2 separate regions of the Homo sapiens genome follow, and region 1 is linked to region 2. The links are contacts of gene promoters, found by promoter capture Hi-C in blood cells and fetal thymus (Javierre and others, 2016). All regions are on one chromosome and are shown on one strand. Each heading gives the region's core, a stretch centred on a gene start or on the middle of the fragment in contact. The rest is flanking DNA. Distances are from core to core; before and after follow the strand shown. Region 1 holds the start of TRQ-CTG1-2 (tRNA-Gln (anticodon CTG) 1-2). Region 2 holds the start of H2BC17 (H2B clustered histone 17).

Region 1 (5,445 bases), core at 1,453-3,952, 370 kb after region 2:
AATTTACCAAGATGGCTTCAGAGTAGACTAACTTTACATAGCACATTTTTCAAAGAGACACATTTATTCAGAGTCATGATTAGACTATTACATTTGGCATCCAACAGCCTAGGTGCAAAAAAAAAAAAACACACTATATTAAAACCCTTTGTTGAAATGATTTATACTTTCCTCAGAACAGAAACTAAAATAACCTATTATACAATTAGTCATAAATACAGTCCTCAAGTTTTTTGCCCATATACATGAGTATTTGTCTAATACATGTCTTCTTTGTAGCAGTTAGGCCCTTCCACCACTGGGCTTGGCTGAGTTCACAAATCGGTTGTAATCTGCAGCTTCCCTGTCACTTCTTTGACTCTCCTTTCCTGGTAAGCTTTGTTTCCTGGCAGTAATTAAAATCTTCTACCACTGCCGTAACTACTGCTGCTACGGAACTGCCATAGCCACCTTGGTTTCATGGTTTGGCAAAGTATTGGCTTCCACCACCATAGGGACCAGAGCTTCTGCCTCCAAAGTTTCCTCCCTTTATGGGTCCAAAATTTGAAGACCGATCGTTGTAATTGCCAAAATCATTGTAGCTTCCACCACCTCCAAAATTGCTTCCATCATTATCAAATCTGTTATAGCCATTCCCACTGCCACCCTATCTACCACCACCACTTCTGCCACCAAAGCCAGCACAACCACTGAAGTTTCCTCCACGACCGAAGTTGTCATTCTCACCAAAACCACCTCCAACGCCACCACCAAAGTTTCCAGAACCACTTCGATCTCTTTGGCTGGATGAAGCACTAAACATCTTTTGCTTTGACAGAGCACTCCTAAAGTCACAGTTGTGGCCATTCACAGTGTGGTATTTCTGAATGACAATCCTTTCCATGGAGTCATGGTCATCAAAAGTTACAAGGCAAAGCCCCTGTTCTTGCCACTGCCTCGGTCAGTCATGATCTCAATCACTTCAATTTTTCCATACTGTTCAATATAATCTCTTAGTTTATGTTCTTCAGTTCTTCTTTAACATCTTTATCACAGTTAAGTGGGCACCTGGTCTTTGAGAATCTTCTCTTGAAACAGCTGTCTTTGGTTCCACAAATCTTCCATCCACCTTGTGCGGCCTTGCATTCATGGCTGTATCCACCTTTTCCATACCGGCATATGTGACAAACCCAAAGCCCCTGGAGTGCTTGGTGTTTGGATCTTTCTTTACTACACAGTCCGTGAGCGTTCCCTATTGCTCAAAATGGCTCCTCAGGCTCTCATCAGTTGTTTCAAAGCTCAACCCTCCTGGCCAGGTGCAGTGGCTCATGCCTGTAATCCTAGCACTCTGGGAGGCCAACCTGGACAACATAGTGAAACCACGTCTGTACTACACACACACAGACACACACACACACACACACACACTTAGCCAGGCGTGGTGGTGCCCGCCTGTAGTCCCAGCTACTTGGGAGGCTGAGGCAGGAGAATCACTTGAACTCAGGAGGCGGAGGTTGCAGCGATCCCAGATTGCGCCACTGCACTCCTCCAGCTTGGCGACAGAAAGAGACTCGTCTCAAAAAAAACAAAAACAAAACCGAAAAAAACAAAATTCAACCCTCCAATGACAATGAAAAGCTTCAGCAGCTGTTCGGGCTCTTTAGGAGACGCTGACTTAGATATGATGGCAGTGGGAAGAAGGGCGTTTAACAGTGCTTCCTCAGCAGTGTCCACAGGCGGAAAAGGCCAGGTTTACTTTTAGTATCTGAATAGTATAGTTGTCTTATTTTATTTATTTATTTTTTAGTACTGTTATTGTTTAGTACAAGAATAAGAATTTTAGCTATTAAGCATAGAGTGAAAATCTTGTGAGCTTTGTTAAGATACTGTCAATCATTGAAATATGAATGGATTTTTACTATTTTAGGGATAAAATGCTTCAATAATTAATAATTTGTGAAAAACTTTATATTTTATGTAATATTAAGAATTAATAAAATTGAAATTAATATAAGGAAGTTAATATAAATATAAGAGTTCTTTAGATTGCTGTATAGGAAGAACATCACATACTTTTATTCTCAACAAATATTATAAATATTTACATTAGAATAAAATGAAGAATAATAAAGTTGTAATTATATCTTAATTCTTCATTTCTAGAATATTTAAAAATACCTTCAAAAACTATTTTCTATATTAGCCTTGAGTCTTTAAACAAAAGTTCTATTTGACAATTTTTTTCATTTTGTCAAAATAACTTAAAAGCAAAATGTCTATTTTGTCACATTAAACTTTCACAAGGGGGAAACGTTCCAAAATTTTGTATTATATCATGACAAATCTTTGTTTATGCAAGTATAACAAAGTCTTTGAAGAAAAGAGGAGATGTTTAGAAGCAATGAAGTCCATCTAAGTTAAAAGTGGGCATCTATTTTTTGGCCCAGCTGTGCTGTAGGGTGACTGAAGAAAAATCTAGTAAATGATATCAATACACAATAATATCAACCTTTGAAATTTTGACTAGTAAAGTTTTGATTATAATACAGTTCTTATAGTAATATATTAATATAAAATATAATACATTAAATATAATGCTAATAATAATTAGTTTTTCAATAAAATTCTTAAATTTTTACATCCTGGCATTTTATTCACAGCAAAGAGGCACTACTGCGTAGCTTTGGCCATGCCCTCAGACAAGTACTAATTTCATAGTCATTCGTTCAGCATTTGCATGAATTATAACTTCAGTAAACAGTTCTAAAAATTATCTTTTATTATGATAAATGACTCCAGTATAATTTGATCCTTATTACAACATCCCATTTTGTGTATTATTGTTATTCATCATTTTAGTTCCATTTTGTTTCTACATCTCAAAATTTAGTAATTATTAACTAATATTTTAACAGATTATTTAACAAATATTAGTTTTGTAGAGACAGGGACTCACCATCTTGCTCAGGCTGGTCACCAACTCCTGGCCTTAAGTGATCCACCCACCTCACCCTCTGAAACTGTGGAAACTACAGGCATGAACCACTGTGCCCGGCCTATTTTAACAGATTCTGTGGCTGAATCATAATGAAAGAGAAAATTGATGGAAAAAGAAAAGTTTAGGAAGAAAAGAAATTATAGATAATCATATTGATGAACATAGTGGTCTAATATGCCTAAGACTTCATATGACTAGGGAGAATTCTCTACCAATGAACTGTGCATCCTCAATGGTTCTGTGATAACTAAATTCCTGCTATGGACTGAATGGACTCAAATGCATATGTGGAAGCCTCTCTCTCTCTGTTTCTCTCTCTCTCTCTCTGTCCCCCCAGTATGTGAGGATAGAGCAAGAGGACAGTAGGCTGCAAATCAAGAAGGGAGGGCTCACCAGACATTGAATCAGCTGGAACCTTGATTTTGGGTTTCCCAGCCTTCAGAATTGTGAGAAATAAATGTTTGTTGTTTAAGTCAACAAACATTATATAGTTATAGTAGTCCAAACTGTCTAAAACAATTTCTTAGGCTTCTATGTAGCTAGGATGGCACGCATGTGCCCTAAGTTTTCCAATCAGATGTATTTCTTCTTTCAGAAGAAACATGTATATAAACAAGGGAGAAAAACTCCAAAATTATGTATTTTATCATGATGCATCTTTATGCAAGTATAATAAAGTCTATGAAGAAATGTTTAGAAGCAAATTAGGTCCATCTAAATTAAAGGTAAGCATCTATTTTCTTGCAACATTTGCCTTGGTAAGGGTAATGAATAGATATCTGCTAAATGCAGGTAGATATTTAAGCTTTTAGAGGCAGTGGTGGCATAAGGCCTAGCAAAGGCATTCCATGCTGGGGAACATAATGCTGCTAGCAGTTAACACTAGAAAATGCATGAGGAATCAGAAGGAATGGGTAGTACAATATAAAAGGGCAAATAATCATTATGTGTGGAAGCATTTGGAAAATGAAAATGACAATTCAAAGTTATAAATTCTCCATTAAATGTATGGTTGCAGAATCAGGAATTTCCTCTGCAGTAAAATAATTTTTAATTTTTGTGACCCAAGAATTGCCATAATTCAAAATCAAATTTATATTATAAACATCTCTTGGTTTCCCATTAATGGAAAGATGAATGAATGAGCTGTGGCATGTTCATATTACACAGCAGCTAACATGAAATCAATGAATGAATGGTAGCTACATACAACAAAAGAGATGATTAATTTTAGCAATATAAGATTAAATGAAAAAAGATTATAACATATAGCCTGATACCCTGTATCCACAATTAAAAGACACAATTTTATAAATACTAATAGATAAAATCAAACTAAGGAAAGCACTTTGGCCTTAATTCTTCAGAGACCCAGTAACTTCTTTGTCTTTCCTTAAGTTGTGACAAATCCAAACATTTACCAGAAAATAAACTAACTTGCAACAAGAGACATTTAGTTTTATGAAGACAAAATAATCACAGAGGCATCCTAGGATACAATTTTAAAGCTCTATCATTCTATGGGACGTATTCAGCATTGACAGCAATTCTGTGTGGCGGGTTAATGTCACAGAAATGACCAACAGAGCACTTAGAAGGTGTATCTGGATATTTACTTACCGTGTTGACAGTGATTGAAGTTACCATGTGAGGATCCAATAGTGTTCAAATACCTAAGAGAGTTTAAGCAATTTTTATTTAAAGTACAGATTTATTTTCACTAATCCTTGTTTCTCAGTGGCAAATGAAACACCTATAAATTCTAGTGATTGCACCTAAAAGGCATTATAAAGCCTCATTCTCTTGGGAAAAAGATACATACAAGAATATTTCTTTTCCCTCAAATCTGTTGAGTCCTTTTTGTCCTCTGAAGTGAATTAACTGCATTTCATAAAGCAATAAATCAAGTAAAAAGTTTAACTCAACTCGAATTATTTTGGGTATTAGAATATCTGTTAGGTGGTGGTGAGGAGGGTAGTAAAATGAAGGAGGTATGAGGGTCTCCTGCTCTGAACATAGAGCAGAGAGTCAGTGGGCCCCGTACAGAGTCCGCGTCATACTTTGGGTTCACATGAACTGGAGATTCCTGCCAATCATATCTAAGAGGGAAATTTATTTTAGAAAGAAAAAAATAGTGAGGAAGCAAGAAGAAACGACAGGTTCCACCGAGATTTGAACTCGGATCGCTGGATTCAGAGTCCAGAGTGCTAACCATTACACCATGGAACCTCGCAATAGCTCGTGTTTTTAACAGGCCTTCCTGAAGGAATATATCTTCATTTCCGAACTCAAGCTGTCTTCCCTTTAAGAACCTAAGTTTCTACCCTAATGTTCGTTATCTGCCGCCATCACACAAGTTCCCTTTTCGTTTCTCACAGGGCTCTTCGTGCAAGATCCAAGAGCAAATCTGTTTCCAGGGGCAGATAAGGTAAGTCCGTGCCTCCCCTGGACTCTTAGCAACAGCCTGC
Region 2 (5,464 bases), core at 1,756-4,255:
CCCAAAACAGACCAGGTGCAGTGGCTCGCGCCTGTAATCCCAGAACTTTGGGAGTCCAAGACCAGCCTGGACAACATGGTGAAACCCTGTCTGTACTAAAAACACAAAAATTAGCTGGGCGCTGTGGCAGGTGCCTGTCTGTAGTTCAGCTACTCAGGAGGTTGAGGAAGAAGAATCACTTGAACCCAGGAGGTGGAAGTTGCAGTGAGCCGAGATTGCGCCACTGCACTCCAGCCTGGGCGACAGAGTGAGACTCTGTCTCAAAAAACAAAACAAAAGAAAACAACTTCATGTCGAAGTCCCAGCCCTCAGTGTGGTTGGTATTTGAAGACAGGGCCTTTAAACAGATAATTAAGGTTAAATTGAGTTGTAAGTGTGGGGACTTAATCTAATAGAACTAGAAAGCACGATCGTATTATTATTTATTTTAGGGTATAAAGCATTTTGGCTTTTTTTATTTGTTTATTTCTTTTGGACAGCTCTGACCAGATCACAAAGCTCAACAGGACTTTCTCCTTTACCCACTCCTCGCTCTTCCTATTAACTCCCCCGCCCCCCTCCCGCTCCCTTTTAACCTCCGCACTAACAACTCTTGAAGAAACTTGAATCCTGCAATTAAAAGGAGTGAAAAATGGAAACCCTGCCCTAGCCCACTGACTCAGTAGAAAGTTAAGAAGAAAGCATTTTAACTGGGGCTGGAAAACACAACGCCTTGAACTTGTGCTTTTGCTTTTTTGCCACAAGATGGCAGGAGAAGGCCACACGTACTCTCTCACCCACTCGGAGGATAATCACCCCTCAGATGTTCTCTCAAGGACGCGGGATGGGCAGGGAGAAACGAATCTCGAAAAAGAGAGCGAAGAGGAATGAAAGGAGGGGGCAAATGTGATGCCAAGTTAAAGAACATGATGAAATCAGGGGACTGCTCTCCAAGTAACTTAGCTTGTCGATAAGCTCTGTCGCCAAGCCCGAGGCACCAAACTTTAATGACAAGGTACGGGGACTGGGGAAGAGAACATTTTAGGGAAGTGAACGGCAAATCCTACAATGTATTTTGAACGACCCACTAACCAATTGGCATAATTCGGGGCTGTTTGTCACCTGTGACAGAGACGAGACTATTCGTCCGAGATAGCCTTCCACCCATAGCTGCAAAGGAAGTGACGTCAGGAAAATAAAGGAAAAGTTAAGGGGTGATTTTAAAGCCTGGAGTGGAATTGTGGAGGGGCTTGCTATTTTGCTGCTAAAGATTTACAATAGAAGTAATTTATTGAAGAGGGGATAACGCAGTGGCAGAGGATGCAATGCTATGAGAATTCAGGCACTGTTGAGAAGAGGGGATCATGCCTTGAAAAGTCTCCACTCCCTTGTACTCGCACGCTCTTGGTTTACCTCCTATTTCTGTGATCTCTTCTGGGGTCCGCTTCTCTTTAAACGCGGGGTTCTCCAACTTCTATCTCAGGATTCCTAATCATGGACTTTAAAATCCCAGCCTGAACGCTGCCCCCGCCCCAGCTAATCCTGGCACACCTCCCTCCCCAAGGCCAACTGATTAACATTGCAAAAAAGCGGCTTTCCCAAGTTGCCAGGTTCTTTGTTCAACATTTTATCCTAAAGGAGCTTCCTTAGCCTTTAATGTTTCCCGTCCCGCTTTGACACCAATAATTTCAACCCACCCTAACATATCTGCAGCGATGCCAGACGAGATGCCTATTCTCTAAAGTGTATGGAAAATGGACACCGGTAAGTCAATGTCACCCAGGATCCGTACAACTGCAGTAAGAGGGACGGTTAATTCACAGCTTCCAGCTCTTGGCGCCAGAGTCCGATGCACTCCTGCAGATAACGGTCATTTCCATTCCGGGAGAACCTCTTCGAAAAACAACCCGGATGAGACTATCTGGCAAATTGCAGCCCTTGGCGGGCTTTTCAAATAGAGCGTTGACCAATCAAAGAAGGGGGACGTTACAGGCACTGAAAGAATAACCCGGCCGCGCGCGATGGCTCACGCCTGATATCCCAACATTTTGGGAGGCCGAGATGGGTGGATCACGAAGTCAGGAGTTCGAGACTAGCCTGGTCAAGACGGTAAAACTCCGTCTCTACTAAAAATGCAATAATTAGTCGGGCACGGTGGCGGGCGCCTGTAATCCCAGCTACTTAGGAGGCCGAAGCAGAATTGGTTGAACCCGGGAGACGGAGCTTACAGTGAGCCGAGATCGCGGCACTGCACTCTATCCTGGGCGACAGAGCCAAGACTCCATTTAAAAAAAAAAAAAAAAAACAACACAAAAGGAAAGAGTAACCGAAAACCGAAAGCAAACTTGTAATTATAGCTTAAAGCACAACTGCAAGCCTTTTTCCCCAAGGGTATCTAAGAACCCAAGCTAAATTTGTCTGATGGAGCGTCTATACTCACACGCAAAAAGCCTAGGGAGCTTAGCTTACCTTTTCCCGCCGTCTTCCCTCCTAATGGAGGCCGGCCGGAGTCCACCCAAAAGACTACAAGCAAAATGCACAGGCTCTTTCTCTGGAAGCGTGAGTGGCTCTGAAAAGAGCCTTTGGATTGCTGGCAGCTGCGAGAGCTCACTTGGAGCTGGTGTACTTGGTGACGGCCTTTGTGCCCTCGGACACGGCGTGCTTGGCCAGCTCCCCGGGCAGCAGCAGGCGCACGGCCGTCTGGATCTCCCTGGAGGTGATGGTCGAGCGCTTGTTGTAATGCGCCAGGCGGGAAGCCTCGCCAGCGATGCGCTCAAAGATGTCATTGACGAAGGAGTTCATGATGCCCATGGCCTTCGATGAGATGCCGGTGTCGGGGTGGACTTGCTTCAGCACCTTGTACACGTAGATAGAGTAACTCTCTTTGCGGCTGCGCTTGCGCTTCTTGCCGTCCTTTTTCTGGGCCTTGGTTACGGCTTTCTTGGAGCCCTTTTTGGGGGCAGGAGCAGATTTAGCCGGGTCGGGCATGGCGGAGGAGAGTGAAAGAGCACTCAAATAACAAGAATGAGGACAAGCTGGGTTATGCCCTATTTATTTACAAGTCTATATGCAGATGAGATTGAGAAATTCTTCTGTCTGATTGGAAGTTACTCAGATGACGTTAATATCAATATAGTCCAATCAAAACACGTATATTCAGAAAGCTCATTTGCATTAAGAGGAAGCTGCAAGCTTAGCCAATGGCCCAGCTTCTTTTTCGCGCCCAGCAGCTGCTATAAAATGCGCGTCCCTGTAGGTTCCTTTCACTCACTTTCTGACTTAGGCCACAGGTCGTTTTACCATGTCTGGACGTGGCAAGCAGGGCGGCAAGGCTCGCGCCAAGGCCAAAACCCGCTCCTCTAGAGCTGGGCTCCAATTTCCTGTAGGACGAGTGCACCGCCTGCTCCGCAAGGGCAACTACGCTGAGCGGGTCGGGGCCGGCGCGCCGGTTTACCTGGCGGCGGTGCTGGAGTACCTAACTGCCGAGATCCTGGAGCTGGCGGGCAACGCAGCCCGCGACAACAAAAAGACCCGCATCATCCCGCGCCACTTGCAGCTGGCCATCCGCAACGACGAGGAGCTCAACAAGCTGCTTGGTAAAGTTACCATCGCTCAGGGCGGTGTTCTGCCTAACATCCAGGCCGTACTGCTCCCCAAGAAGACTGAGAGCCACCACAAAGCTAAGGGCAAGTAAGGGCTGAACTTTAAAAATGTAAACTTACAAGACAAAAGGCTCTTTTCAGAGCCACCCACCATTTCTACGGAAGAACTGAGCACTCTGTTCTCCAAACCTATCAGAAATTTGTGGCCGAGTTCAAGCACTGAGGCCATTACTTTCCTATTGGGTAAAATAAAAGTATTGAATCAGGCCTAGTAAATACTATCCAACTGCTACCTTATAACATGAAGGAACCTCCTTAATTGTCCCCTCCCCACAAACTGTCCTGGGTCTTTAAAAAACTTGGGGCCGGGCGCGGTGGTTTATGCGTCCTTAGCATTTTGGGAAACTGAGGCAGGTGGGTGGGGAGGGGAGAAATCTCTAGGGACCTGGAGTTCGAGACCACCCTGATAACGAGACCCCTGCCTCTTAAAAAAAAAATGACTGGGCGCGGTGGCTCACGCCTGTAATCCCAGCACTTTGGGAGGCCGAGGAGGGTGTATCACAAGGTCAAGAGATCGAGACCACCCAGGCAAACATGGTGAAACCCTGTCCCTACTAAAAACACAAAAATTAGCCGGGCGTGGTGGCGAGCGCTACTAAGGAGACAGGCAGGAGAATCGCTTGAACCCAGGAGGCAGAGGTTGCAGTGAGCCGAGATCACGCCACTGCACTCCAGCCTGGGCGACAGAGCGAGACTCCATCTAAAAAAAAGAAAGAAAAAAAATACCAGGCGCGAGGCCCTCGCCTGTATTTGGCGGACTGACAGCAGAAGGAACACTTGAGTCCCAGGAATTTGAGATTTCAGTGAGCCATGACCTCGCCACTGCACTCCAGCCTGGGTGACAAAGCGAGACCCCGTCTCAAAAAAAGAAAAACAAAACCCAAACAAAAGTATTTCTGGTGATCATTTGCTCCTGTGAATATAATAAATGTTAAACTAACCTTTTTGTTGTCTTTATGGGTCTTTATCAATACCAGAACCTGGTAGTTCTTTGATCAACTAAAATCTCCATCCTAATAAAATGCTGTTGTCAGAACTACCCAGATTCACTGGCAAAAATCTAATCACTGACCCAAACCTGTAATTCCGCGCATGCTAATGAAATTAAGCAATAATTTACATAATTAATCCAATCAGCCATTGGATTGCATTAAACTCAGTTAATGAAGAGGTCAGATACCATTTATTGGTATCATTTAGTCAAGCACCTATCAAACTCCTTCCCCACACCACACTGGACAAAACTAAAGTTTTGGTGTTTTAGAGAATGTGCCAGCCTAAGTTTAAATTGTTTTTGTTCTGGGTCTTGGTACAGTCATTAAAAGATTTAATTAAGCAGTTACAAAACGGAACTACTTTTTGGAAATACTAGCAAATACGTTGTTCTACTGTATGTATTTTTACACGATCCGAAATAGGAAAAATGACCCATTGGAAATGAGTTTAAGACTACGACTGACCTACACAAATTCTAGGTCAGATTATCTTTTCATTGGGGGAATCTTAACATGATTGGTTGAAAACAATAAATAAAAGTGGCGCGGAGGACGAGCGCAGTGGCTCACGCCTGTAATCTAAGCACTTTGGAAGTCCGAGGCAGGCGGATAACTTGAGATCAGGAGTTTGAGACCAGCCTGGCCAACATGGTGAAACCCCTTCTCTGCTAAAAAAAAATTAGCCGGGCGTCGTGGCAAGTGCCTGTAGTCCCAGCTACTCCGGAGGCTGAGGCAGAATCGCTTGAACCCGGGAGGCGGAGGTTGCAGTGAGCTGAGATCGCGCCACCACACTCCAGCCTAGGCGACAGAATTAGAAGCCGTCAGGTA

Evidence for each region. Contacts are between HindIII fragments. The CHiCAGO score rates a contact against its expected background, and 5 or more counts as called.
Region 1: a fragment that was not itself captured here is called in contact with the fragment with the promoter of H2BC17 in region 2 in 3 of 17 cell types (naive B cells, total CD8 T cells and activated CD4 T cells); the score reaches 6.5 in naive B cells.

What each region holds. Positions count from the first base shown.
Region 1 is chr6:27,519,290-27,524,734 of GRCh38, reverse strand. It overlaps TRQ-CTG1-2 (tRNA-Gln (anticodon CTG) 1-2), which reads right to left and starts at 5,206; the gene lies at 5,135-5,206. It also overlaps the pseudogene HNRNPA1P1. RefSeq lists a silencer at 5,124-5,173. The HindIII fragment of the contact is 2,165 bases long and covers 1,620-3,784 here.
Region 2 is chr6:27,890,966-27,896,429 of GRCh38, reverse strand. It overlaps H2BC17 (H2B clustered histone 17), which reads right to left and starts at 3,005. Exons shown (of 1, transcript NM_003527.4): 1 at 2,539-3,005. The coding sequence starts at 2,967. The coding sequence ends at 2,587. H2AC17 (H2A clustered histone 17) reads left to right here and starts at 3,245. Exons shown (of 1, transcript NM_003514.2): 1 at 3,245-3,731. The coding sequence starts at 3,281. The coding sequence ends at 3,673. RefSeq lists a cis regulatory region at 622-906 and enhancers at 2,242-2,381, 2,772-3,011, 3,032-3,575, 3,922-3,971, 3,576-4,119 and 2 more. The HindIII fragment of the contact is 3,889 bases long and covers 1-3,173 here.